6 separate regions of the Homo sapiens genome follow, and all the other regions are linked to region 1. Evidence: promoter capture Hi-C in 16 types of primary human blood cells and fetal thymus (Javierre and others, 2016). All regions are on one chromosome and are shown on one strand. The core of a region is centred on a gene start or on the middle of the fragment in contact, and the rest is flanking DNA. Distances in the headings are between cores, read along the strand shown.

The links. The method cuts DNA at HindIII sites, captures the fragments that hold promoters and counts their contacts. A CHiCAGO score of 5 or more calls a contact.
Region 2: a fragment that was not itself captured here is called in contact with the fragment with the promoter of INA in region 1 in 2 of 17 cell types (erythroblasts and M2 macrophages); the score reaches 8.3 in erythroblasts.
Region 3: a fragment that was not itself captured here is called in contact with the fragment with the promoter of INA in region 1 in 3 of 17 cell types (endothelial precursors, M0 macrophages and M1 macrophages); the score reaches 7.3 in endothelial precursors.
Region 4: a contact is called between a fragment that was not itself captured here and the fragment with the promoter of INA in region 1, in 1 of 17 cell types (endothelial precursors). The highest score is 5.5, in endothelial precursors.
Region 5: a fragment that was not itself captured here is called in contact with the fragment with the promoter of INA in region 1 in 3 of 17 cell types (endothelial precursors, M0 macrophages and M1 macrophages); the score reaches 10.2 in endothelial precursors.
Region 6: a fragment that was not itself captured here is called in contact with the fragment with the promoter of INA in region 1 in 1 of 17 cell types (endothelial precursors); the score reaches 5.4 in endothelial precursors.

What each region holds. Positions count from the first base shown.
Region 1 is chr10:103,274,870-103,279,826 of GRCh38, forward strand. It overlaps INA (internexin neuronal intermediate filament protein alpha), which reads left to right and starts at 2,269. Exons shown (of 3, transcript NM_032727.4): 1 at 2,269-3,407. The coding sequence starts at 2,343. RefSeq lists an enhancer at 2,684-3,288. The HindIII fragment of the contact is 2,856 bases long and covers 951-3,806 here.
Region 2 is chr10:102,889,665-102,894,763 of GRCh38, forward strand. It overlaps AS3MT (arsenite methyltransferase), which reads left to right. Exons shown (of 11, transcript NM_020682.4): 10 at 880-1,014. It overlaps BORCS7-ASMT (BORCS7-ASMT readthrough (NMD candidate)), which reads left to right. Exons shown (of 15, transcript NR_037644.1): 14 at 880-1,014. Among named protein-coding and RNA genes, the nearest start is that of AS3MT, 23 kb to the left of the region's middle. The HindIII fragment of the contact is 3,686 bases long and covers 1,824-5,099 here.
Region 3 is chr10:102,983,461-102,987,978 of GRCh38, forward strand. All of the region lies in intron 1 of CNNM2 (cyclin and CBS domain divalent metal cation transport mediator 2), which reads left to right. Among named protein-coding and RNA genes, the nearest start is that of CNNM2, 67 kb to the left of the region's middle. The HindIII fragment of the contact is 1,884 bases long and covers 1,970-3,853 here.
Region 4 is chr10:103,001,610-103,006,032 of GRCh38, forward strand. The region is part of intron 1 of CNNM2 (cyclin and CBS domain divalent metal cation transport mediator 2); the gene reads left to right. Among named protein-coding and RNA genes, the nearest start is that of CNNM2, 86 kb to the left of the region's middle. The HindIII fragment of the contact is 4,079 bases long and covers 467-4,423 here.
Region 5 is chr10:102,949,976-102,954,481 of GRCh38, forward strand. The region is part of intron 1 of CNNM2 (cyclin and CBS domain divalent metal cation transport mediator 2); the gene reads left to right. Among named protein-coding and RNA genes, the nearest start is that of CNNM2, 34 kb to the left of the region's middle. The HindIII fragment of the contact is 3,168 bases long and covers 1-3,087 here.
Region 6 is chr10:102,965,610-102,970,694 of GRCh38, forward strand. The region is part of intron 1 of CNNM2 (cyclin and CBS domain divalent metal cation transport mediator 2); the gene reads left to right. Among named protein-coding and RNA genes, the nearest start is that of CNNM2, 50 kb to the left of the region's middle. The HindIII fragment of the contact is 6,484 bases long and covers 254-5,085 here.

The sequences.
Region 1 (4,957 bases), core at 1,019-3,518:
CCTCCAGCCTGGGCAAGAAGAGCGCAACTCCGTCTCTCTTTTTTTTTTTTTTTTTGATGGAGTCTCGCTCTGTCACCCAGGCTGGAGTGCAGTCGCATGATTTCGGCTCACTAAAACCTCCACCTCCCGAGTTCAAGCAATTCTCCTGCCTCAGCCTCCTGAGGAGCTGGGATTACAGGCCCGTGCCACCACACCCGGCTCATTTTTATATTTTTAATAGAGACAGGGTTTCACCATGTTGGTCAGGCTGGTCTCAAACTCCTCACCTCAAGTGATCCGCCCATCTCGGCCTCCCAAAGTGCTGGGATTACAGGTGTGAGCCACTGCACCCGGCCAACTCCGTCTCAGAAAAAAAAAAAAAAAAAAAAGAGTCTCACTGCACTAAGCAGAATTATGTAGTGAAGAGAGAATGTATGCTTGTCTTTGCTTGCTGGTGACCTTGTGCTGCACCCGCACCTCGGTGCCTTATCTATAAGATGGAGGTGAGGGCCACCTTGAAGCATGGTTCAGAGGTAAACCTATGCAAAAGTGCCAGCACAAGTACTGGCAGACAATCATTACTCAGCAGTGTTAGCAATCTTTTATTGTTCACCTTACCAGGTCTTTCTAAGCCCAAAGACCTCAGAATTGAGTCCCTCCAACTCAAGGCTTTGGTCTGTGATGAGGAACCAGAGGGGCAGGCTGTGGCAGGGCCTGACCATCTTCCATGACATCAAGCACAAAGCCAAGAGATATGCTCCAAAGTCCCATAAGATCCCTTTTCACCCTTCCTTTAGTGGCCTGTCCCAAGCATATTCCCCTTTCCCCATGAAGTAAAACTTATCCTAGAACTACGTCCTTGAAGATTCCAATATCAATAAAAGGCCCTCAGTCTGGAATTCTGGGATATAACTAAAAAGGTCTTCCTACTCCCTCTCCAAAGCCATATCCACATCCTGAATGATATTAGAAGCTTGCAAGTGGGTACATATTACAGACGCCACACTGACCCCTCCCAGCCTTCATCTTTTCAGATTCCATTCTTTGATTCTCACCCCCTGCCCCACCAACCCTACCATGTGGCAGAAGAGGCCGGCTCAGTCACCAGCACTCTCCCCCACTCCTGGAGTTTAATCTTTTTGCAGGGATCTCTTTTCTCCAAAAAGAGATCTGCACAGGGAGTGGCTCTCTGAAGCCAGTTGAGAACCTGCCCTGCTGGATTTACACAAACTGAAATCTCAAATGCCCACAGGGTCAGAGAGGTAAAGTAAATGAATTAAGAAGGGGGGCGTAATTCAGTGGAGAATGGCAGGGACTGTAGTGAACAGGAGAGCACACTTCTTATACAAATGGCAAGGGCAACTCACCTCTGCCACTGTGGGCATCCCAGCTCTTCCCATTTTCAGAAGAAGCCAGAAATCCAATTTCTTTACAGGTGAAATCTCCTGGTTTAAAAATGCTCCTTTCGAAATATTTTAAAATATAATGCTCTAAACACAAAAGTCTGCAGCCCCCTTTCCAGCAGCTTGTGGTCCTGGCCTGTGCCATGCTTTAGTGCCCTAACGATGAGCCCCAGCAATTCCCAGCGCCTCCTGCTTCTCCAAGTCTGGCCTCTTTTCCCCTCTGTACCGCCGCTTCTCCCCACTCTCCGCAGCTCGGGGTCACTTTCTTTACTGATCTCCCCTCTCTTCTGGGAGAGGCACTTGCTGAACATCTTTCCGCCCGGAGCCTCCCCAGGAGCTGCAGAGGGGCAGCTGGAGAGATGCTTTCTGACGTAGCATCTCCCACCTTTCTCCTTGGGGACCCTGAGGAAGGGGACAAGGGCTCGCTCTGCAGGTCCTCACTGTAACTGGAAAAACACGACCTCGCCCTCGGGAAGGCTTTCTGTGCGCCTCACCTCAGGATGAGGGTGGGTGTAGGGGACACCTCCCAGAAACCCCTAACCTCCCAGTCGGTTAAAGAAGAGGGGATAGGGTCAAGGGATGCGACAGAGCTGTGTGGTTTCCGGATGGGAAACCTCAGTCGTTTAGGCACCCCTCCGCTCGAGTCACTTCCGAAGCAGTCGATTCTTGGGGAGAAGCGCTGCGGAAAGGGGCGACTCCGATGCAGATGGCCCTGTCCCGGCGCCCCAGGTCGTCGCGCGCGCAGCTGCGGTAGTCACTGCGCCTCCCCGCCCCCACTCCTGGATGCCCCCCTTCCCTCTCCCGGCCAGACTCTGAGCAGGAGCTCCGCCCCCAGCGCGCCGCCCCAGCCCCGGCGCCTTAAAAGCCGGGCGCACCGCCCCGCCGCGCCCTGCCTGCCGCACCTCTCCTTTCTTCTGTAGCTCGCGTTGAAGCCGCACGTCCGGCCCCGATCCCGGCACCATGAGCTTCGGCTCGGAGCACTACCTGTGCTCCTCCTCCTCCTACCGCAAGGTGTTCGGGGATGGCTCTCGCCTGTCCGCCCGCCTCTCTGGGGCCGGCGGCGCGGGCGGCTTCCGCTCGCAGTCGCTGTCCCGCAGCAATGTGGCCTCCTCGGCCGCCTGCTCCTCGGCCTCGTCGCTCGGCCTCGGCCTGGCCTATCGCCGGCCGCCGGCGTCCGACGGGCTGGACCTGAGCCAGGCGGCGGCGCGCACCAACGAGTACAAGATCATCCGCACCAACGAGAAGGAGCAGCTGCAGGGCCTCAACGACCGCTTCGCCGTGTTCATCGAGAAGGTGCATCAGCTGGAGACGCAGAACCGCGCGTTGGAGGCCGAGCTGGCCGCGCTGCGACAGCGCCACGCTGAGCCGTCGCGCGTCGGCGAGCTCTTCCAGCGCGAGCTGCGCGACCTGCGCGCGCAGCTGGAGGAGGCCAGCTCGGCTCGCTCGCAGGCCCTGCTGGAGCGCGACGGGCTGGCGGAGGAGGTGCAGCGGCTGCGGGCGCGCTGCGAGGAGGAGAGCCGCGGACGCGAAGGCGCCGAGCGCGCCCTGAAGGCGCAGCAGCGCGACGTGGACGGCGCCACGCTGGCCCGCCTGGACCTGGAGAAGAAGGTGGAGTCGCTGCTGGACGAGCTGGCCTTCGTACGCCAGGTGCACGACGAGGAGGTAGCCGAGCTGCTGGCCACGCTGCAGGCGTCGTCGCAGGCCGCGGCCGAGGTGGACGTGACTGTGGCTAAACCAGACCTGACCTCGGCTCTGAGGGAGATCCGCGCCCAGTATGAGTCCCTGGCCGCTAAGAACCTGCAGTCCGCGGAAGAATGGTACAAGTCCAAGTTTGCCAACCTGAACGAGCAGGCGGCGCGCAGCACCGAGGCCATCCGGGCCAGCCGCGAGGAGATCCACGAGTATCGGCGCCAGCTGCAGGCGCGCACCATCGAGATCGAGGGCCTGCGCGGGGCCAACGAGTCCTTGGAGAGGCAGATCCTGGAGCTGGAGGAGCGGCACAGTGCCGAGGTAGCTGGCTACCAGGTAAGGGCCGGGGCTGGGCGTGGGGAGGGGTGCCCTGCCCTCTTCCGCGCGTACCCTCTTCCTCTGGTAAAACTGGGCCCCAGGACTTAAGGGGAGGGCAAAAGAGAGGAGAGAAGAGCCGCGGCTGGAGGCGCTGGTTAACAAAAAACCCTGGAGTCTTTAATGTTAATTTTAGGGAACGCCCCTCATTTATGTCCCTGCCCCAGCCCTTCAAACAAAGAAGCCCTTAAATTTATTTGAGGTTCGAAAACCCAACTCTGCCTGTCTGTCAGCAAGCGGGCCTACACACACCGGCGACCCGGAGAACAGTGCCCCACCCAAAGTAAGACTGAGCCCAACGGGGCAGGTTACGTGGGCGGTGCTGTCTCGGCTATCTGGCTTGTTTGGTTGACTTTGAAAAGCTTTCTGTGCGCCCTAGAAGTTATTTATGGAGTATGGTCTGCTTCAGGGCTGAAGGAAGAATGCGATCCTGAACTGGGAAGAGTCCTATCCCATTTTCTTGACTTTCGCGCTCCAAAAAGTAGAGATTGGGAGCCAACAAGCTGAGCGATGCTTGAGCTAGTAGTAACCACCCTGCTCTACCCACCTCCCCAACACACACACACACACGATTCCCTTGTCCACCAGCACACACACACACACACACACACACACACACGATTCCCTTGTCCACCAGCTGACATTTCCTCCTTAAGAAAGCGTTCGCCGGTTGGCAAAACGTGAAAGGTCGGGGCGCTGTCCACGGTGCTGATCTCGAGTTCTTCCCATCTCAGAAATTATGTCTCTCCTGTCTCGTGTCCCAGTTATGAATCTCTAGGCAATTAACTGCTTTGATTTTTTTTTTCCTGCAACACCAACACATCAGTCTTGGCTACCTGCAATCAAAGGTCACCTCATAGACAACATCAGTTTTGGCTTTCATGGATGGCTTAGCACTAAACAAAAAACACTTAATTTGCTCAGCAGCTGTGAGGTCCCACTTGAAAATTCCTGTTTTGTTAGTATTTTTTTCATTGTAAGTGCATGTGATAAGTCACAGAGATGGTTTTTCTTTGTTCTAGTGTATGTATTTTTTCCATATTTCCCTGTCCTCTAAGCTCCTGTGATGGTATTGATTGGCTATTTCTTCCCAACAAAGGCCACTGTGTCTTCAGTTTTACTATATAAGAAATTCTGGGATTATGACCGCAAATGGCACAGAGGCAGGGGACAGGGTAAATGGAAGGTGTAGAAAAGAATTGGAATAGTGTGGTTCGGTTTCAAGGTACAATAAAAGCTCCTTTGAATAGAATGACTATAATTCAGAAACTTGCAATAATTCTAGCTAGGATTAAAGTTTACATTTGGTGAGATTAATAGGGCTTGGAACATTGGTAAAATAGAACCAAGAAAGGAATGAAATCTCAAAAGTAACATTTTAATCAGAAGCTAAAGAATTCTTATTGATGTGCAGGTATTTGCTGTTTGTTACAATAACTTCCTTTGATAAAGGAAAAAAGCCTGCTTGGACTGTTTAGGTTAGTTTGGTATTGCATTATCATTCAAATAAG
Region 2 (5,099 bases), core at 2,417-4,916, 380 kb before region 1:
CTTCCTCCCTCCACCCCCCCCGCCCCTTTCAGATGGAATCTGGCTCTGTCGCCCAGGCTGGAGTGCAGTGGCGCAATCTCAGCTCACTACAACCTCCGCCTCCTGGGTTCAAGCAATTCTTCTGCCTCAGCCTCCCGAGTAGCTGGGATTACGGGCATGTGCCGCCATACCCAGCTAATTTTTTTGTATTTTTAGTAGAGGCAGGGTTTTACCATATTGGCCAGGCTGGTCTCGAACTCCTGACCTCATGATCCACCTGCCTCAGCCTCCCAAAGTGCTGGGATTACATAGGTGTGAGCCACCGTACACAGCCAGTTTCATTTTCTTTTCTTTTTTTTTTTTTTTTGAGACGGAGTCTCGCTCTGTTGCCCAGGCTGGAGTGCTGGAGTGCAGTGGCACGATCTCGGCTCACTGCAAGCTCCACCTCCCGGGTTCACACCATTCTCCTGCCTCAGCCTCCCAAGTAGCTGGGACAACAGGCGCCTGCCACTATGTCCGGCTAATTTTTTGTATTTTTTTAGTAGAGATGGGGTTTCACTGTGTTAGCCAGGATGGTCTCGATCTCCTGACCTTGTGATCGGCCCACCTCGGCCTCCCAGAGTGCTGGGATTACAGGTGTGAGCCACCGCGCCTGGCCCATTTTCTTTAGATATATACCCAAGTAGGGGGATTGCTGGGTCATATAGTAGTTCTATTTTTAATTTTTTGAGGAATCTCCATACTGTTTCCCATAATGGCTGTACTAATTTAAATTCCCACCAACAGTGTGTAAGGATTAGTGCTGGTGAGGATGTGGAGAAAACGATACTTCTGGGCATTTTTTCTTCTATTGAGACTAAAGTTGCAACTCTTAGTATTTTTTTTTATACTACCCTTTAGGAAGGTGAAATTGTTGAAGTGGATGAAGAAACAGCAGCTATCTTGAAGAATTCAAGATTTGCTCAAGATTTTCTGATCAGACCAATTGGAGAGAAGTTGCCAACATCTGGAGGCTGTTCTGCTTTGGAGTTAAAGGTTAGTTTGGCTTTCACTACCTGAGAGAACTATTTTATTTATTTATTTTTGAGATGGAGTCTCTCTCTGTCACCCAGACTGGAGTGCAGTGGTGTGATCTTGGCTCACTGCAACCTCCGCCTCCTGGGTTCAAGCAATTCTCCCTGCCTCAGCCTCCCGATTAGCTAAGATTACAGGCACCCACCACCACGCCCGGCTAATTTTTGTGTTTTTTAGTAGAGATGGGGTTTCGCCATGTTGGCCAGGCTGGTCTTGAACTCCTGACCTCAGGTAACCCACCTGCCTCAGTCTCCCAAAGTGCTGGGATTACAGGCGTGAGCCACTGTGCCCGGCCAGTATGCATGGTCTCTTGAGGCGCACTTCTCTTGCTGGTCAAATGTTGTTAGACGGTTATATACCAGTTAAACGCCACCATTTTGCCTCTTAATGTGCATGCTTGAGCCCACTTGCCCAACTCCCGAGATCTTATCGGGAAGCTGCTGATCACCAGTTTCAGGTGTTTCTGTTTATTGGGAGACTTCCTTTCCCTGGTACTGTCTGTGACTAATTATGATTTTCGAGAGACAGTTAACAACCACCTGATCATCACCTAATGATCGCCTGACATTCCTGGTGGAGTCGGCGCGGGGAGCCCTCTCCTGCCCTGCTCACGCCTGACTAGCTATTATACCTGCTTTAACAAGTTCTCCAAAATTCAGAGACCTTTCGTGAGTATTCTGATTTTATAATAAAATAGTTATTTGCATAAGTTTAGTAAGAGTCTTTTCTCTCAAAACAGGACAATTGGAGACACTTGGTTATTTTACCAAAGCTTTGACTGGAATAACATTTGTAGGTAAAGTTCCAGCAAAGCCAACTTGAAAAGAGCCTATCTGGCCAAACTCTTGCTGGACTTCATGCAAATGATCAGGCAAAGTTTAATAAGCCTAAAATTTATTTTGCACATAAATTGGCCTTACTATAATTTGTCTTTAGTATAAAAGGAGGAGCTGGGTGCAGAAGTTCACACTCATAATCCCAGCACTTTGGGAGGCTGAGACAGGCAGATCACTTGAGGCCAGGAGTTTGACACCAGCCTGGGTAACATGTTGAAACCCTGTCTCTACCAAAAATACAAAAAAATTATCTGGGTATGGTGGTGCATGCTGGTAGTTCCAGTTACTCAAGAGGCTGAGATGGGAGGATTGCTTGAGCCCAGGGAGGTGGAGGGCAATGAGCCAAGACTGCACCACTGCACTCCAGCCTGGGCAACAGAGTGAGACTCTGTCTCAAAAAAAAAAAAAAAAAAAAAAAAAAGAAAGAAGGCTAGAGAGAGAAATGGTTTCAAAGGAAAACTATAACACTTGTTACTAGATTTCCAGCCTGGACTTTTGTTTTTGAGTGCATATTGAATCATTAATTATTTCTTGGCTACAATAACCCTCTAAAGATAAACCAGGTTATAATTTTTCTTCATGTTTTTAGTTTGTGCCCTAAGTGGAATAGGTTCCTTATTCTGTTCTGACACACGAATACTCTTTTGACTGTCATATTATTAATGTTATTTATAGCTCCTTGTTTTACTTCCAAAGAAACCAGAATCATGATATTCTAAGGTTAGAGAATCCCCCGTTTGGAATCCCACTGGTCCTAATCTGCTTTTCACTGCAAATTCCGTGCTGCTAAAATTATATAAGCACTCTTCTCTAGGCCCAGGGACCTATCACACAAAAGGTAGGTGTGTGAGACTGTAAGGGCCAGTTTTGAGAGAATTATTTCAGACTCTCCAAATCAAAAATGGGCACACAGATGCATAAACAGCTGGTAAAATAAGGGACTCTGCCTCCTGGGTTATTATGTGTGTGGCACCTTTTCATCCATCCCAATCATAAAGAATTTCCTGCTTCTCGTAGAATGAAAAGAAAATTATTACTGAGAGGATATAAAGGTACCTCATGTCAAAGCCTCCTAGGTTTAATACTCTGAGTTATGAGATTTATGCAGATAACATATATATTTTTTAAAATTTTAGAACAGGCCAGGCACAGTGGCTCAAGCCTGTAATCCTAGCACTTTGGGAGGCCAAGGTGGGCAGATTGCCTGAGCTCAGGAGTTCAAGACCAGCCTGGGCAACATGGTGACACCCCATCTCTACTAAAATACAAAAAATAAATTAGATGGGCATGGTGGCGTGCGCCTGTAGTCCCAGCTACTTGGGAGGCTGAGGCAGGAGAATTGCTTGAGCCCGGGAGGCGGAGGTTGCAATGAGACGAGATTGAGATGGCGCCACTGCACTCCAGCCTGGCAACAGAGTGAGACTCTGTCTCAAAATAAATAAATAAATAAATAAATAAATAAATAAATAAATAAATAATTTTAGAACAAATTACTGAAAGACCACAAAAAAAAAAACTGTAGCACAACGGAAGTCTCTAAATTCCTTAGCTTAAAAGGTTTTAACAGTGCTTATGTTTTGTATAGCTAATTGCTGTAAGTCTGTAACTAAAACCAAGATTACAGTAGCACAATGCATAGAAGTTAAAGATAAGTCAATTTTTTAACCTCACCTTTGGCTTTTTGTTTGTTGGCTTTTATATTAAGAAATTTTAAGGGTTTATTAATGCCTATCCACATCCATTCCCATCTGGCCTAGAACTTTCTTTTTTTTGGTGGGGGAGGGGGACGGAGTCTTCCTCTGTCACCCAGGCTGGGGTGCAGTGGCGTGATCTCATCTCACTGCAACCTCCGCCTCACAGGTTCAAGTGATTCTCCTGCCTCAGCCTCCTGAGTAGCTGTAATTACAGGCATGTGCCACCATGCCTGGCTAATTTTTTTTTCTTTTTTTTTTTTTTTTCCGAGATGGAGTCTTGCTCTGTTGCCCAGGCTGGAGTGCAGTGGTGCGACCTCGGCTCACTGCAACCTCTGCCTCCCAAGTTCAAGCGATTCTTCTGCCTCAGCCTCCAGAGTAGATGGGACTACAGGTGCGTGCCACCATGCCTGGCTAATTTTTATTTTATTTTTTTAGTAGAGATGGGGTTTCATCATATTGGCCAGGCTGGTCTCGAACTCCTTACCTCATGATCCACCCACCTTGGCCTCCCAAAGTGCTGGGATTATAGGCATGAGCCACTGTGCCCAGCCCTAATTCGTATTTTTAGTAGAGACAGGGTTTCACCATGTTGGTCAGGCTGGTCTCAAACTGCTGATCTTAGGTGACCAACCTGTCTCGGCCTCCCAAAGTGCTGAGATTACAGGGGTGAACCACCATGCCTGGTCTGGCCTAGAACTTTCAAATTCGCTATGTGTCTTTTGGCTCTAAGCCCCTTGACCATAGGGGTCCCACCAAGGCACAAGATGGACCCAGGGAAGGCAGCTGTGCCACCCCAGCAACACAGTGAGATAAAATAAAAGTTTGGTGACCATTGATGTTGCCTCTGACAAATCTAGGCCAGAATGCGGAGAAAGTAAATCAAAAATAAAATTCTAGGCCGGGCGCGGTGGCTCACACCTGTAATCCCAGCACTTTGGGAGGCCGAGGCGGGTGGATCACAAGGTCAGGAGTTCGAGACCAGCCTGGCCAACATAGTGAAACCCCGTCTCTACTAAAAATAAAAAATCAGCCAGGCGTGGGGGCAGGCACCTGTAGTCCCAGCTACTTGGGAGGCTGAGGCAGGAGAATTCCTTGAACCTGGGAGGTGGAGGTTGCAGTGAGCCGAGATCATGCCACTGCACTCTAACCTGGGCGACAGAGCGAGACTCCATCTCAAAAAATAAAAAAAAATAAAAAAATAAAAAAATAAAATAAAATTATAAACCCTCAACCATCTGAACGGACCCCTCCTGTCGGGCAAAGGCATTGCAAAGTTATCCTAAAAAACTAGTTCAGGTCACGAAGGGAAGGAGAAGTTTGGACATGCCTCATTATTCCCTCCTCCCTTTTGGAATTCAGACACTGCTGACCAGCATTACCATTAAAACAGATCTTAAGACTGATAGAACAGACTCTTTAAATCTGGTAAGAAACATTTACAATCTATTCTCTCTGTAGCCTGCTGCCTAGAGGCTTCATCTGCATGATAAAACCTTGGTCTCCACAATCTCTTATC
Region 3 (4,518 bases), core at 1,662-4,161, 290 kb before region 1:
ATCATCCTGGCCAACATGGTGAAACCCTGTCTCTACTAAAAATACAAAAATTACTGCAGCCTTGACCTCCCAGGCTCAAGTGATCCTCTCACCTCAGCCTCCCAAGTAGCTGGGATCGTAGGTGCACACCACGATGCTCGGCTAGTTTTTTAAATTTTTGTGTAGAGACAGGGTCTTTCTATGTTGCCCAGGCTGGTCTTGAACTCTTGGGCTCAAGTGCTCCTCCTTCCTTGTCTTCCCAAAGTGCTGGGATTACAGGCATGAGCCACCTGGCCTAGTTTGTTTCATTTTACATAGCACTTAAATTGTAAATTTTTTTTTTTTTGACAGAGTCTTGCTCTGTTGCCCAGGCTGGAATACAGTGGCGGGATCTTGGCTTATTGCAACCTCCACCTCCCAGGTTTGAGCGATCCTCCTGCCTCAGCCTCCTGAGTAGCTGGGATTAAAGTGCCCGCCACCACGCCTGGCTAATTCTTGTATTTTTAGTAGAGATGGGGTTTGATCGGGCTGGTCTCGAACTCCTGACTTCAGGTGATCCACCCGCCTTGGCCTCCCAAAGTGCTGGGATTACAGGTGTGAGCCACTGTGCCTGGCCAGATTGTAAATTTTATGAGCCTACTGTTGGTTGGCAGTAGTTGTTCAGTAAATATTTTTTGAAAGAGTTAATAAATGAATGCATGTAGTTATGGATGAAGATTACGTGAATAAAGACTGAAGCCCAGAGAGGTTAAAAACTTATGTGATAATCCAAGACAATAAATAAAGCTATTTGGGAATGTTCTTTATTGTCCCCTGATGGATGTGTGGAATTGTTTTACTAGGGAGGAGGATTCAGCAGAAGCTGGATAAACAATTATAGGGTTTTTATGTGGTGTTGACATGTAGAATAGCCAAGGTTAAATTGGCCAATTAAAGCTGGAGTAAGATGGCTTTAGGAAGTGTTATATATTAACAGAATGAGAGAAATAATCAGAAATAATTTCTTAGTCCCAGTAGCCATTAAGTAGGGGAATTTTAATTTTTAAGTGATGGCTCCAGGTCTTCATGTGTATAAGATTCTTGCAGGAAAATTTTTTGATGTTACTAGTAATTTTAAAGGAATATGTGTAAAAGGCTTAGGGTAGTGCTCGCTCTACAACTAGATATTTGACAATCTAAGCCTAGATTATAACTGAAATATAATTGTGTAATCTTGTCCTTACTTCTATCTTATTTTTTTGAGACGGTCTCACTCTGTCACCCAGGCTGGAGTGCAGTGGTGTGATCTCGGCTCACTGCAACCTCTGCCTCCCGGGTTCAAGTGATTCTCCCAAGTAGCTGGGACTACAGGCGCCTGTCACTACGCCTGGCTAATTTTTGTATTTTTAGTAGAGGTGGTGTTTCACCATGTTGGCCAGGCTGGTCTCTAACTCCTGACCTCAAATGATCCACCCACCTCAGCCTCCCAAAGGGCTGGGATTATAGGCTTGACCACTGTGCCCGGGCTTTACTCTTATTTTAAATGTCAGTTTGTTAAGGACAGAAAAAAAGACTGAATTTTGCTAATATTTTCTACACTTGATCTTAGCCAAAAGGCCGAGAAGCGATGAATTTTGCTAATATTTTCTAACATGAAAAGGAAATAACGAAGGGAAAGTCTTTTTTTTCTTTTTAACTTTCTGCAGCAGTTGGGCAAAATTCCTGCTTTGTGTAGGAAACCCTGGCAGACCTTGAGAATTCTAAATTGCTGCAGATTGTTTTATCTTTTTTTTCTAAAACAATTTGAATAGCGGATCCTTTCCATCTGAAACAAGTTTTTCCCCTTCTCACCCTCTTGTTTCATGTAATTAGCAGTCCTCCTCTGTATATTCCTATTTTGTCTGATATAGCCAAAATTCTTTAAAAAGAATTTTAAAATTTTAAAATTCTGCTGTGAGTCCGGCAAAGGGGCTGAGAGAATTTCTGTGTCAACATCATTGAGAACTCTGAAAGCTTCTTTACATACCAAGCTCCTCCTCATCAAAGCTAGATACAGGAAGTGTTTATGGTCCCTTTCTTCCAAGGGAATGGCTCTAAACTAACCAGCAGACCCTGTCTCACTTATGTTCTCCTTCAGGTTCTTCCTTGACATCCTACTGGCTACTCTTAGTCATGTTCTTTCTAGCCATCAAGTCTCCAAACTGCGTGGCCAGACAACTTGAGTTACCTGGGAAGTTCCTAGGGGCTAGATAAGTACTTTATGCCTTATTCTACAGCAGAATATTTGTTTTGTTTACATGACCAGCTCAGATTGATAGAATAGCTGTCTTTTAGCAACAGTGTAATCATTTAATGACAGCTGTTCAAGGGACTAGTAAAAGGATTGGGAAAGGGGGGCCTTCTAAACAAAGTGAATGGGCCCTGCCAACTGAGGAGTGATGTCTCCTAAATGGTTGGCATGTTCAGACTTCAGAGTATTATCCATCAGCTTGGAGACCCACAAGTTTTTTAAATATCTAGTGTTATCTGTTTACCTGTTAGCTTGGTGCCAAAGTGATTGCACCTTACCTCCAGACCATGTCTGTGCTTGCCCTGATGTACCTGTCATGTTCAGTACCTGTTTTGGTTTATAGGGCTTGGACTAGCTCCGATGTTCACTTGCCCTGTTTTACTTAGAGAAAGTCATCATGTGACTAAATTTTAAGATTACAAAGATAATGCATGTGATTTAGACTTGAGTGTGTAAAAGGCTTAGGGTAGTGCTCACTCTACAACTAGATATTTGACAATCTAAGCCTAGATTATAACTGAAATATAATTGTGTGATCTTGTCCTTACTTCTATCTTATTTTTTTGAGGCGGTCTCACTCTGTCACCCAGGCTGGAGTGCAGTGGTGTGATCTCGGCTCACTGCAACCTCTGCCTCCCGGGTTCAAGTGATTCTCCCGAGTATGGGTGGTGATGGACCATTTGTAAAGCCTCAGAAGCCAAACTGGAATTAATGTGAAAGTTATAGGGAAGTTAGTTTCAGCTTAATCAAAGTAGAATTTCCAAAAAGTAGAGCCATTTGAAAATGTCCTGTGGCTGGGCGCGGTGGCTCACGCCTGTAATACCAGTACTTTGGGAGGCCGAGGTGGGCGGATCACGAGGTCAAGAGATTGAGACCATCCTGGCTAACACGATGAAACCATGTCTCTACTTAAAAAAAAAAGTCAGCTGGGCATGGTGGCAGGTACCTGTAGTCCCAGCTACTTGGGAGGCTGAGGCAGGAGAATGCTGTGAACCTGGGAGGCGGAGCTTGCAGTGACCCGAGATTGCGCCACTGCACTCCAGCCGGGGTGACAGTGCAAGACTCAGTCTCAAAAAAAAAAAAAAAAAGTTTTTATCCTCCAGATCGTAGAATTATATTACTAGAGGTGGTGATTCAGCAGAAGCTGGATAAGCAATAATAGGGATTTTGTGTAAGTGTTGACATATGGGTAGGGTGGGCTAGGTGATTTGCTAATAGTGAGATATTTTGATTCAAGTATAAATTTCAGTAGTTGCAGATGAACACAGAAGGAACAAGCACAGATTTCTGCTGATGGTTAGTAAGACAACATTGCCAAGGGAGGGTGTCCCCAGAAGAGCAGAAAACCTAATATGAAAGCTCAAATTTAAAAGATGGAAGCAGGAAGTAAACTGCTGAAGGAGAATGTTCAGAGGAAGAAAACCAGAGGGTTTAGGGTACAAAGGCTGAGGGTGGAGAGTTTGAAGGAAGAAGAAGAAATTAGAGAACCATAAAGAAAATGATATATTCTAAAGCGGTAGTCCTCAAGGTAAATTGCATGTAGCTGTGCCTTGGGATGCAGTAGGACTTACATATATATATATGAATGAATATGCATATACATTAAGCTTATTATTATTATTATTATTTTGAGACGGAGTCTCGCTCTGTCACCCAGACTGGAGTGCAGTGGCGTGATCTCGGCTCACTGCAAGCTCCGCCTCCCAGGTTCACGCCATTCTCCTGCCCCAGCCTCCTGAGTAGCTGGGACCACAGGTGCCCACCACCACGCCTGGCTAATTTTTTTGTATTTTTAGTAGAGGTGGGGTTTCACCATGTTGGCGAGGATGGTCTCGAACTGCTGACCTCGTGATCTGCCCGCCTCGGCCTCCCAAAGTGCTGGGATTACAGGCTTGAGCCACTGCGCCCGGCCAAGCTTATTTTTATATGGATTTCATGATGTATATATTTTGTAATATATATAATTTATAAGTAAATATAAATTAGGGAGGTGTACTCAACATTTTCATAGAATACATAGTCAAAAATGGTTTGCAACCTCTGCTCTAACAAAAATAAAACACCCTACATCTTTGGTTCAAGATTGTCACCCCCAACAGTTGTGTGAAATGTGGGGCAGGAATTATCACTATTTTCCTTTGGAAATTAAGGTTCCAAAGATAATGAGACCAGAGCCAAAGGTCAGAGTCCACTGTCTTCTCTCTGAGGCCTCAATGTGAAGACCTGAACTGTGGCAGCAGATAATTCTGGAGACCTGTTAATCAGCTGTA
Region 4 (4,423 bases), core at 1,256-3,755, 270 kb before region 1:
ATTGGATATCCACATGCAAAAGAATGGAAATAGACCCCTTCCTTATATCCTACACAAAAATGAACTAAAAATATATCAGAGACCTAAATGTACGAACTAAAGCTATAAAACAGGCCAGGTGCGCTGGCTCATACCTGTAATTCCAGCACTTTGGGAGGCTGAGGTGGGTGGATCATTTGAGGTCAGGAGTTCGAGACCAGCCTAGCCAAAATGGTGAAACCCCCTGTATACTAAAAATACAAAAATAGCCAGGTGCATGCCTGTAATCCCAGCTACTTGGGAGGCTGAGACACAGGAGAATCACTTGAATCGGGAGGCAGAGGTTGCAGTGAGCCGAGGTCCTGCCACTGCGCCCCAGCCTGGGTGATCAGAGCAAGACTTTCTCCCAAATAAATAAATAAATAATAAAACTATAAAACACCTAGAAGAAAACAGGAATAAACCTTCATGACTTTGGATTAGGTAAAGCTTTCTTAGATATGACACCAAAAGCAAAAGCAACCACAGAAGAAAATTGATGAATTGGACATCACAGTTAAAAATTTCTGCTCCTAAAGGATACCATCAAGGAAGTGAAAAGAACCCACAGAATATGAGAATATTTTTGCAGATTATATCTGATAAGGGACTGTAAGAGTTCTTTATTCTGGATACAACTTAATAGTAAAAAGACAATCCAATTTAAAAATGGGCAAAGGATCTTAATAGACATTTCTCTAACAAGGATGTACAAATGAACAATAAGCACGTGAAAAGATGGGAAATACAAATCAAAACTACAAGACAGCACTTTGTACTCACTAGGACGGCTATAATAGAAAAAGATAACAAGCCTGGGCTGGCGAGGATGTGGCTGACAAGACTGGAATCTTTTTTTTTTTTTTTTTGAGACAGAGTTTCGCTTTTGTCGCCCAGGCTGGAGTGCAATGGCGTGATCTTGGCCCACTGCAGCCTCCACCTCCTGGGTTCGAGTGATTCTCCTGCCTCAGTCTCCTGAGTAGCTGGGATTACAGGCATGCGCCACCACACCCGGCTAATTTTGTATTTTTAGTAGAGAGGGGGTTTCTCCATGTTGGTCAGACTTGTTTCGAACTCCCAGCCTCAGGTGATCCACTTGCCTCAGCCTCCCAAAGTGCAGGGATTACAGGCGTGAGCCACTGCGCCTGGCTGGTTGGAATCCTTATACATTGGTGGAGGTAATGTGGAATGGTCTAACTGCTCTGAAATAGTTTGGCAGTTACTCCAAATGCTAAACATAGATTTACCATATGACCCTGCAATTCTGCTACTAGGTATATGCTCAAGAGAAAGAAAAACATATATTCACATAAAAACTTGTACGCAGTTGTTCATAGCGGCATTATTTATAATACTTAAAAAGTGGAAACAACCCAAATGTTCATCATTTGGTAAATGGGTAAATAAATGTGGTGTATCCATGCTATGGACTATTATTCAGCCATAAAAAGGAATGAAGTATGCATACATGCTATAACATGTGTGAATCTTTTTTTTTTTTTTTAATAGGAGTCTCACTCTGTTGCCCAGGCTGGAGTGCAGTGGCATGGTCTCAGCTCACTGCAACCTCCGCCTCCTGGGTCCAAGCGATTCTCATGGCCTCAGCCTCCTGAGTAGCTGGGATTACACGCACGAGCCACCATACCTGGATAATTTTTGTGGTTTTAGTAGAGACAGGGTTTCACCATGTTGGCCAAGCTGGTCGCCAACCTCTGACCTCAGGTAATCCGCCTGCCTCAGCTTCCCAAAGTACTGGGATTACAGGCATAAGCTACCACACCTAGCCCTCCTTCTAGTACTTTTTTAAGTGAACTTTTAAATTATAACGTGTATACAGAAAAGTATGCAAAAAGTTACTAGTATATAGCTTGATGGGTTTTCCCATCCATGTAGAATTATGCATGTCATGAAATAAACTGGGTGCGTTGGCTCATGCCTGTAATCCTAGCACTTTGGGAGGCTGAGCCAAGCAGATCACTTGAGGTCAGAAGTTTGAGACCAGCCTGGCTAACATGGTGAAACCCTGTCTCTACTAAAAATACAAAAATTAGCCGGAAATCACTTAAACCCAGGATGCTGTGGTTGCATTGAGCCAAGATCGCGCCACTGCACTCCAGCCTGGGCACCAGAGCGAGACTCTATCTTTTTTTTAAAACACTATTCTCTCCTAGTTACTGTATCCCCCCGGGTAACCACTGTCCTGACATTAACATCAATTTTTCCTGTTTTTATACTTTATATAAATGAAAACATACAAGGTGTATTCTTCTGATATGATTTCTTTTACACAGCATTATATTTGTGAGTTGTATTGTAGACTGTGCATTCTCATTGCTGAGTAGTACTCCATTGCATGAATTTTTTTTTTTTTTTTTTTTTTTTTTGAGATGGAGTCTTGCTCTGTCTCCAGGCTGGAGTGCAGTGGCGCAATCTCGGCTCACTGCAACCTCTGCCCCCACCCCCGCCCCGGGTTCAAGCGATTCTCCTACCTCAGCCTCCCAAGTAGCTGGAATTACAGGCACCTGCCACCAAGCCTGGCTAATTTTTTTGTATTTAGTAGCAATGGGGTTTCACCATGTTGGCCAGGTTGGTCTCGAACTCCCGACCTCAGGTGATCTGCCCGCCTCAGCCTCCCTAAGTGCTGGATTACAGGCGTGAGCCACCATGCTCAGCCTCATTGCGTGATTATACCACACTTTATTCTTTCTATTTTTGAACATTTAGGTAGTTTTCTTGTTTTTAGCTATTATGAATAGTGTTGCTATGAATATTCTCGAACATGTCTTTTGGTGGACATCTGTGTGCATTTCTGATAAGTGTGTGCCAGGAAGTGGAATTGCTGGATCATAAGGCAGTGCTTCTCAAACTGTATTGTGCACATCAGTTTCCTGGGAATCTTGTTAAAAGGTAGATTCTGCTTCAGTAGTTCAAGGGTAGAGCCTGAGAGTCTGCATTTGTCAGGAGCCAGTTGGACTGGCTGTGGACCACACTTTGAGTATACCAAGGCCATAGGATATGCTTGTGTTTGGTTTTAGTAAAGAATGCCAAATGGTTTTCCAAAGTTACTGTCTCAGTTTACATCTCCAACAGCAGTGCATGAGATTCCTTTGTTTAGGTGTGTGTGAGTCTGTTTCGCTCAAACTTTTACATATCTTCTTCTAGATCGTCTCAGCTTTTCTTGGACCTTTTGTGTTTTCACATAAATTTTATAATTGGTATCAGTTTCCACATACAACCTGCTGGATTTTTGATTTGGATTGTATTGAATCTGTAGATCAACTTGAGAAAGAACTAGTGTTTCAACATCCAAATTCCTGAACATGGCTTATAGCCCTCCATTATTGAATGGTCTTTAATTTCTTTTTTTTTCCCCCCTCCAGGTTAAAGTGATTCTCCTTCCTCAGCCTCCCGAGTAGCTGGGATTATGGGCATGCGCCACCACACCCAGCTAATTTTTTTGTATTTTTAGTAGAGACGGGGTTTTTCCCTGTTGGCCAGGCTGGTCTCGAACTCATGACCTCAAGTGATCCACCCACCTCGGCTCCCAAAGTGATAGGATTACAGACCTGAGCCACTGTGTCTGGCCTAATTTCTTTCAGTAATATTTCTAGTTTTCTGTATAGAGATTTTATTTGCTAGTTCATTCTTAAGTATATGATTCGTTGATACTATTGTCAATGATTTCATTCTAAAATTTCTATTTAATAATTGTTGGCTGCTGGTATATAGAAGTACAGTTGGCCAGGTGCGGTGTCTCACACCTGTAATCCCAGCACTTTGGGAGGCCAAGGTGGGTGGATCACCTGAGGTCAGGAGTACAAGACCAGCCTGGCCAACATGGTGAAACCCCGTCTCTGCTAAAAATACAAAAATTAGCCAAGCATGGTGGTGCACACCTGTAATCACAGCTACATAGGAGGCTGAGGCAGGAGAACTGCTTGAACCTGGGAGGCAGAGATTGCAGTGAGCTGAGACCGCACCACTGCACTCCAACCTGGGCAACAAGAGCGAAACTCCGTCTCTCAAAAAAAAAATTGATTTTTGTATGTTAACCTTTAATGGAACAATATTGGTAAATTCACTTACCATTTTTCATTGTATATATTACTTTATTTTTTTGAGACAGGGTCTCATTTGTTCACCCAGGCTGGAGTGCAGTGGCATGATCATAGCTCACTGCAGCCTTGATCTCCTAGTCTCCAACAGTCCTCTTGCCTCAGCCTCCCAAGTAGCTGGGACCACAGGCACATACCACCATGCCCAGCTAATTTTTGTATGTTTTGTAGAGACAGGGTTTTACCATATTGCCCAGGCTGGTCTCAAACCCCTGGGCTCAAGCTCATGGTTATATATAGATTCTCTTGGATTTTCTTTGTGAATGTAATCGTGTCATATGCAAATCATG
Region 5 (4,506 bases), core at 254-2,753, 330 kb before region 1:
TTAGTTATAAAAGATACCTAAAGCACGACCACTATAGAACTTACTATCTAATAGGGGAGAAAAGACTCAAATACATGATTCCAGCATGACAGCTCCTGTCGTGGAGATACATGCAGGATGCTATGGGCACCCAGAGGAAGGACTTTGGGCCGAGAGTTAGTCACAGGCAGATATTGGTATTAATCATTATGTGGTAATATTTCCTGAACAAGAGCATAGGCGTTGTCAGGCAAAAATGTCTAGAAAATACTCAGTTGATTAATTTGATGGAGGAAAAATAACTTCTAAGGTAAAAATGAAATGTTTGTAAGTTATGAAGGTTACAGTTTCAGGCTGATAAGGAGTTTAGCAAAATTGCCTTAAACATTAATTCACTTGTGGAAATAATATGAGAAACAGAGTCTTACCATATTTTTCAACTGTGCATGTATTTTTTAATATGTAGTTATTTAGTATGATATTAATATTTTGTCAGTTATTATTTTTCTTTGAAGGTGATTTAGGCCTGGGTGAGGTGGCTCACATCTGTAATCTTAGCACTTTGGGAGGCTTGAGGCGGGAGGATTGCTTGGAGCTAAGAGTTCTAGACCAGCCTGGACAATAAAGCTGAGACCCCATCTTTACAAAAATTAGCCGGGTGTGGTGATGCGCACCTGCACTCCCAGCTACTCATGACACTGAGGCTGGAGGATCGCTTAAGCCCAGGAATTCAAGGTTGTATAGAGCTATGATTAAACCAGTACACTCCAGCCTGGACAACGTGAGACCCTGTCTCAAAAAAAAGAAAAAGAAAATAATTTGGGAAAACTCACTGTAATTTTAATTTTAAGGGGATGCTTTATAATAAAGCAAGAATTGCAAGATAAAAGTCACTTTTCAGCAATTTGTTTTACAGAAGCTACATTAGGACATATCTCTATCTTTAAGTGAGGTGTACTCATATATATATTTTTCCCTTTCTGTAATATTAGTTCCTCCTGGGGGCAATAGGAATTCTTTCTTTCTCTTTTTTTTTTTTTTTTTTTTTTTTGAGATGGAGTCTCATTCTGTCACCCAGGCTTGAGTGCAGTGGTGTGATCTCAGCTCACTGCAACCTCTGCCTCTTGGATTCAAGCAATTCTCCTGCCTCAACCTCCCAAGTAGCTGGGACTACAGGCGCCTGCCACCATAGCTGGCTAATTTTTGTATTTTTTTAGTAGAGACAGAGTTTTACTATATTGGCCAGGCTGGGTTTTTTTTGAGGCGGAGTCTCACTCTGTCACCCAGGCTGGAGTGTAGTGGCGCAGTCTTGGCTTACTGCAACCTCCACCTCCTGTGTTCAAGTGATCCTCCTGCCTCAGCCTCCTGAGTATCTGGGATTACAAGCGTGTGCCACCATGCCCTGATAATTTTTGTATTTTTAGTAGAGACAGGGTTTCACCATGTTGGCCAGGCTGGTTTCGAATTCTTGATCTCAAGTGATCTGCCTGCTTTGGCCTCCCAAAGTGCTGGGATTATGGGGATGAGCCACCATGCCTGGCTGAAAGTATTTCTTTTAAGCCTGAGTCATTCTGTGGGCTTTGAGCACGCTTGCATGCTTTTAAGGATAACTTGCCAAACTGAATCTACCTTTATTTTGCTGTGTGTTTTATGGTTGTCTAAAAATTTTAGAAACTTTTTTTTTTCTTTTTTTTTTTTTTTACAGACAAGGTCTCACTTTGTTGCCCAGGCTGGGGTGCAGTGGTCTGATCCTAGCTCACCGCAATATTGACCTTCTGGGCTCTAGCAGTCCTCCCACCTCAGCCTCTTGAGTAGCTGGCACTATAGGTGTGTGCCGCCATGCCTGGCTAATTTTTTTTTTTTTTGAGACAGGAATTTCGCTCTTGTTGCCCAGGCTGGAGTGCAATGGCACAATCTCGGCTCACTGCAACCTCTGCCTCCTAGGTTCAAGCTATTCTCCTGCCTCAGCCTCCCGAGGAGCTGGGATCACAGGCATGCGCCACCACACCCGGCTAATTTTGTATTTTTAGTAGAGACAGGGTTTCTCCATGTTGGTCAGGCTGGTCTCGAGCTCCCGACCTCAGTTGATCCACCCACCTCGGCCTCCCAAAGTTCTGGGATCACAGGCGTGAGCCACCACGCCCGGCCAATTTTTTAAATTTTTTGGGAGAGTCAGAGTCTTTGCTATAATGTCCAGGCTTGTCTTGAACTCCTGGGCTCAAACAGTCGTCCTGCCTTGGCCTCCCAAAGGGCTGGGATTATAGGCGTGAGCCACCACGCTGGCCAGAAACTGATTTTAATAATATTTTAAAAATGTTAAATGATGGGGGCCGGGCGCAGTGGCTCACGCCTGTAATCCCAGCACTTTAGGAGGCCAAGACTGGCGGATCATGAGGTCAGGAAATCGAGACCATCCTGGTTAACATGGTGAAACCCCGTCTCTACTAACAATATGAAAAATTGGCTGGGCGTGGTGGCGGGTGCCTGTAGTCCCAGCTACTCGGGAAGCTGAGCCAGGAGAATGGCATGAACCTGGGAGGCGGAGCTTGCAGTGAGCCGAGATTGCACCACTGCACTCCAGCCTGGGTGACAGAGTGAGACTCCGTCTCAAAAACAAAAACAAACAAACAAAAGTTAAATGATGACATAGTGAGACCCTGTCTCTACCAAAAAAAAAAAAAAAAAGTTAAATGGATACCCTTTCACATAAGTCTGTTTAAATTCATTAGTTGGGGCACTGGGGAACATTGGAGCTTGTTTTCCTGAGGAACCCGAGTGTTGGGGGCAACCTAGTATTCCACCCCATCTGGTAGAAGCTCTATAGGATGTGTTACGTAGGTCTCTTAAATATATCAATGCAACTGTGACTAAAAAGTAGTTCTGCTTCAGTACTTGAATAGAAGTCCTTGATGGTTCTGGGCTGGAAACATATAGGGTGTGCTAATAAGGTTGGTAAGAACTCTGTATGTTGGTGATGTCATTGTGAAGTCAGTTGGTATATTTATTGCAGGGAAACTTGGAATTATTTCCTACTGATGAGTGTAAAGGAGAAAATATAATTTGGCATTTGTTGAACTACTTAACCATTCTCTTAAGCCAGTTTTACTAAGCTTTAAAATGTCAGTATTGCACCTGTTATATTATGAAACTTTATGGACATGACTTGAGATTTCTCAGTGAAGAATTACAGGAAATAAAATTTTAAAAAATCAAAAGTGCTGGTTTCAGTTTTTATTTAGATTGTTACTTAAAACTTATAATCTAGCACAATGGGAGAGTTTTCAGGTGATAATAATTGTAGCTTCATTTATTTATTTATTGAGATGGAGTCTCACTCTGTCGCCCAGGCTGGAGTGCAGTGATGCGACCTCGGCTTGCTGCAACCTCTGCCTCCTGGGTTCAAGCAGTTCTCCTGCCTCAGCCTCCTGAGTAGCTGGGATTACAGGTGCCCGCCACTACACCTGGCTAATTTTTTTGTATTTTTAGTAGAGACACGGTTTCACCATGTAGGCTAGGCTGGTTTTGAACTCCTGAAGACCTCAAGTGATCCACCTGCCTCGGCCTCCCAAAGTGCTAGGATTACAGGCATGAGCCACTGTGCCCGGCCTATTTATTTATTTTTAAAGATGAGATCTCATTCTGTCATCCAGGCTGGAGTGCACTGGCTTGATCTCAGCTCACTACAGTGTCCACCTTCAGGGCTCAAGCGATCCTCCCACCTCAGCCTGCTGAGTAGCTGCGACCACAGGCACGTGCCACCATGTCTGGCTAATTTTCTGTATTTCTGGTAGAGACTGGGTTTTGTCATGCTGGCTAGGCTGGTCTCTAGCTCCTAAACTCAGGCAATCCACCTGCCTTGACCTCCCAAAATGCTGGGATTACAGGCATGAGCCACTGTGCCTGGCCTAATTGTAGCTCTATGTATTATTGACTATATGCGAGGTACTGTGCTATTTAATTTTACCTAACAACAGCCCAGTGAAGCCCAATGAGTAAATTATTAGTTCCAATTTATAAGTCAGGAAACCAAAGCTCAGAAAGGCCAAATCACTTGCTCAAGGTTACTTTGTGAGTAAGTGGCATAGTAAGAATTGAACCCCAGACTGCTCAAAGACACCAAACCACTGTGCTATTTTCTATGTAACATTGTATTTTTCTTTTCTTTTCTTTTCTTTTTTTTTTTTTTTTTGAGACAGGGTTTCCCTCTGTCATCAGGAGGCTGGAGTGCAGTGGTGTGATTATAGCTCACTTTAGCCTCGACCTCCTGGGCTCAAGCAATCCTCCTGCCTCAGCTTCCTGAGTAGCTGGGACCACAGGCACACAGCACCATGCCTGGCTCATTCTTTGTATTTTTGGGGTCTCACTATGTGGCTTGGGCTGTATCGAACTTCTGGACTCAACTGATTCTCCCACTTTGGTCTCCCAAAATGCTGGGAATACAGGCATGAGACACCGTGCCTGGCCTGTATTTTTCAATAGTCATATTTAATAAAATTTTTAAAGGCATAATTCAATTAATAAATGTAA
Region 6 (5,085 bases), core at 2,246-4,745, 310 kb before region 1:
ATGCTTGTTTTTCTAAAGTCTTGAGTCAGCGTCTTTATCCTTATCAGTGTTTGGCCTTTGTCTACTCTATCTCTGTAAATCATTTGTAGGAGGGTTAAATTCCATCTGACGCAAATTGTGATTTTAAAAATAAATTGCTTTGTCCTACCATCTCTGAAAATAAAAGCAGATAATTTTCCTAAGTCACTTATTTAAGAAGTAGCACAAGCTAAATGCCAACCACTTGAAGTTGTAGACTTGCTAGACTTTTTTAAGCTTCAAGGTCTCTGTGTTTTCTGTTTCAGGTAAAAATGGTCAGGACTAAACAGTTCTTCAGGGGAAAAAAAAAATAGGGTCTTTGTCACAGCTGAGTCTTCATCTTAACCAAGATTTTTGCCAGAAAGCCTTTCCTTCTCTTGGAATTTTATGCTGGTTGAAATTTGGGTTTAGTTGAAGTATAAGGAGCTGTATTTCCTTATGTCTGGTTAAGTTCCACTGTCTTTTCCACTTGCAGATTTTATATTCAGTTGTCAAATTTGCTTGTGCTCAGCATTGAACGTGATTTCTGTACTTGTATGATTAAACTGGAAAAATCTGGAATAAATAAACTGGAATAAATAAACTAGAACTGTTTTCTGAAATTGGAAGGGATTTAGATAATGGTTTGATGGATGGAGGAGGAGTGAAAGGTGGGTTAGTATGAATTTTAAAAGTTTAGATTTTTGCCACTGTTCATGCTAATGTAAAAAAGGATCTTGTTGGCCTGGCGTGTGGCTCATGCCTGTAATCCCAGCACTTTGGGAGGCTGAGGTGGGCAGACATCTGAGGTCAGGAGTTTGAGGCCAGCCTGGCCAACATGGCGAAACCCCATCTCTACTAAATATACAAAACAGCCGGGCTGGGTGGCAGGCACCTGTAATCCTAGCTACTCAGGAGGCTTAGGCAGGAGAATTGCTTGAACCTGGGAGACGGAGGCTGCAGTGAGTCGAGATCGCACCATTGCACTCCAGCCTGGGCAACAGAGCGTGGACTCCATCCCAACCTAAAAGGATCTTGTTTAAATGGTGCCTATTCCCTGTAGATTTTGTAGCTTGGTATTACAAATATTTATTTAGTGCCTGCTATATGTAGGATGTAATATAAAATAGATTAATAACATGGTCCTTTCCTCAAGGAATTGTCATGGAATTAGGAGGTGGGAATAAAGGAGACGAAGATACATGTGCTGAGTGCAAAGCTCAGGGAAGATTGAAAATATGCAGTCTCCTTGGGAGTGAGGTGGGATGAGGAGTGGGGCAGGATATAAATGAAGTTTCTAGGAGGAGGTACTTAATTAAGGCACAGAATCATGGAAGTGTCTGGAAGAATGCAGAGAGCTATGAGCAATCTGGTAGGTCCATGGGGCTACCTGGGGTCTGGTGTGATCCAGCTCACTTTAGCCTCGAATTTCTGGGCTCAGAGGATCCTCCCATGTCAGCCTCCCCAGTATCTGGGATTACAGGTGCATGCCAACATACTTCGCTACGTTTTTTAAAAAATTTCTTTTAGAGATAGGGGTCTTGCTGTGTTGCCCAGGATGGTCTTGAACTCCTGGCCACAAACAGTCCTCCCACCTCAGCCTCCTGAGTAGCTGGGATTATAGGTGGGAGCCACTGTGCCTGGCCTCCTTTCTCCTCCTAAACTGGTTTTATTGAGGTATAATTTACATACCATAAAACCCACCCATGTAAGCATACAATCCAGTGATTTGTAAAAGTAAATTTATAGAGTTGGGAATTGCCACCTCAACCCAGTTTTAGAACACTGCTTTGTCCCTGGAAGTTTCCTTTCTTCTGGGTCAATCCCTGCTTTCATCTCCAGCCTCTGGCAAACACTGTTATGCTTTCTGTCTCTATAGATTTGACTTTTCTAGAAATTTCCTATAAAAGGAATCATAGGTAGTCTTTTTTGTTTGGCTACTTTCACTTAGCAAAATGTTTTTGAGGCTCAGCCATGGTGTAGCATGTATAAGTTGTTTGTTCCTTTATGCCGATTAATTGTATTTGATTGCATGGATATACCACATTCTGTTACCCATTTGCTAGTTGATGGGCATTTGTATTGTGTCCAGGTTTAGGCTGTTATTAATAACGCTCCAAGGCTGGGCGCGGGAGCTCATGCCTGTAATCCCAGCACTTTGGGGGGCCGAGGCGGGCGGATCACCTGAGGTCAGGAGTTCCTGCCCAGACTGGCCAACATGGTGAAACCCCGTCTCTACTAAAAATACAAAGTTAGCCAGGCATGGTGGCAAGTGCCTGTAATCCCAGCTACGTGGGAGGCTGAGGCAGGAGAATCGCTTGAACCTGGGAGGCGGAGGTGGCAATGAGCTGAGATTGTGTCACTGTGCTCCAGCCTGAGCGACACAGTGAGACTCTGTCTCAAAATAATAATTCCCTGTGGGCACTTGCATGAAGTCTTTGTGTGGACATGTTTTCATTTCTCTTGTGGAGATACTTAAGAGTGAAGTTTCTGGGTCATATAGTAAGAATATATATATATTTTACTTTTCAAGAAGCTGCCAAACTGTTCTCCAACTTGGCTGTATGTACCATTTTACAACCAGCAATGTCTGAGGGTTTTGGTTTTTCCACATCTTTTTGTTGTTGTTGTTGTTGTTGTTTTGTTTTGTTTTTGTTTGAGACGGAGTCTGGCTCTGTCACCTAGGCTGGAGTGCAATGGCGCAATCTCGGCTGACTGTAACCTCTGCCTCCTGGGTTCAAGTGATTCTCCTGCCTTAGCCTCCCAAGTAGCTGGGACTACAGGTGCCCAGCACCAAGCCCGGCTAATTTTTGTATTTTTAGTAGAGACAGGGTTTCACCATATTGACCAGGCTTGTCTCGAACTCCTAACCTTGTGATCTGCCCGCCTTGGCCTCCCAAAGTGCTGGGATTACAGATGTGAGCCACCCAACCTGGTTATTTTCCACATCTTTGTCAACACTTGGCATGTGAGTTATAACCATGCTACTGGGAGTGTAGTGCTTTTTTTTTTTTTTCTTTGAGACAGGGTCTTGCTCTGCCTCAGGCTGGTCAGTGGTGCGATTATAGCTCATTGCAACCTTGACCTCTGTGGCTCAAGTGATCCTTCCGCCTCATTGCACTGAGTAGCTGGGACTACATACAGGTGCACGCCACCATGCCAGGCTAATTTTTTTGTAGAGACAGCATCTGACTATGTTGCCTAGTCTGGTCTCAAACTCCTGGGCTCAAGCAATATTCTTGCCTTGGCTTCTCAAAGTGCTGGGGTTACAGGCATGAGCCACTTGTGCCCAGCCAGTGCTGTCTTTTTTTTTTTTTTTTTTTTTGAGACAGGGTCTCACTCTGTCACCCAGGCTAGAATGCAGTGGAATGATCTTGGCTTACTGCAGTCTCCACCTCCTGGGCTCAAGTAATCCTCCCACTTAAACTTTCCGAGTAGCTGGGATTACAGGTGTGCACCACCATGCCTGGCTAATTTTTTCTATTTTTTGTAGAGACAGGGATTTGCCATGTTGTCCAGGCTAGTTTTGAACTCCTGGGCTCAAGTGATATGCCCACCTCAGCCTCCCAAAGTGCTGGGACTACAGGCATGAGCCACTGCACTGCGCCTAGTAGTGCTTTTTTTTGAGGCGGAGTCTCGCCCTGTCGCCCAGGTTGGAGTGCAATGGGGCAATCTCAACTCACTGAAATCTCCGCCTCTGGGGTTCAAACGATTCTCCTGCCTCAGCCTCCCGAGTAGCTAGAATTACAGGTGCCTGCCACCACGCCTAGCTAATTTTTGTATTTTTAGTAGGGACGGGGTTTCACCATGTTGGCCAGGCTGGTCTCGAACTCGTGACCTTGTGATTTGCCCGCCTCGGCCTCCCAAAGTGCTGGGATTACAGGCGTGAGCCACCATGCCCAGCCAGTAGTGCTATCTTAGTTGTAGTTTTGCTTTGTATTTCTCCACCGACTGGCAGTCTTTTAATATTGTAAATTATTTCGGCTATTTCAGAAAACACTACTCTATAATAGCGGCAATTGGTGTTGTGGTTCACTGTTTTGTTTGTTTTCTTGAGGCGGAGTTTTGCTCTTTGTTGCCCAGGCTGGAGTGCAGTGTTGCGATCTCAGCTCACCGCAACCTCTGCCTCTGGGTTCAAGTGATTCTCCTGCCTCAGCCTCCCGAGTAGCTGGGATTACAGGCGTGCACCACCACGCCTGGCTAATTTTGTATTTTTAGTGGAGACGGGGTTTCTCCATGTTGGTCAGGCTGGTCTCAAGCTCCTGACCTCAGGTGATCCGCCCACCTCGGCCTCCCAAAGTGCTGGGATTACAGGTATGAGCCACCGTGCCTGCCTTATTAACTGTATTTTTTTCTAAAGCTCTTGAAAGAATTTTTGTATGTGAAGAATCCAGACACTATTTTATTAGAGACTCTTTGCTTACTTATTTTTACTCTTTCTTTTTGAGATTTGTAAAATTATCCTCTGATATAAACTACCTGTGGCCTGCCACCTGCTTTTGTATGCCCCAGGAGTAAAGAATTTTATTTTTAAATGGTCGAAAGTAAAAGAATACTATTTTAGCCAGGTGTGGTGGTGCATACTTATGGTCCCAGCTACTTGGGAGGTTGAGGTGGGAGGATTGTTTGAGCTGAGGAGTTTGAGGCTGCAGTAGCCATGATTGTGCCCCTGCACTCCAGTCTGGGCAACAGCATGAAATGCTGTCTTGAAAATAATTGTGATATGTGAAAATTACATGAAATTCAAATTTCAGTGTCATAAATAAATTTTGATTGGAATACAGCCATGCCTATTCATTTATGTGTTACCCATGTCTGCTTTTGTGCTATAAGGGCAAGAGTAGGGTAGTTTCAGTAGAGACTGTACAGCCTGCGTAGCCTAAAATACTTACTGCCTGGCTCTTTACAGAAAGTTTGCCCACCCTGGCTCTCACCCATTCCAGATGTTGCCTATTCTCAGAAAAAAATTTGCTATTGACTTGTCCTTTTGGTTCAGTTCCTTTTTTAGAGATAGGGTCTCACAATGTTGCCCAGGCTGAAGTAGAGTGGCTGTTCACAGGCACAGTACCAGTACTGATCAGCATGGGA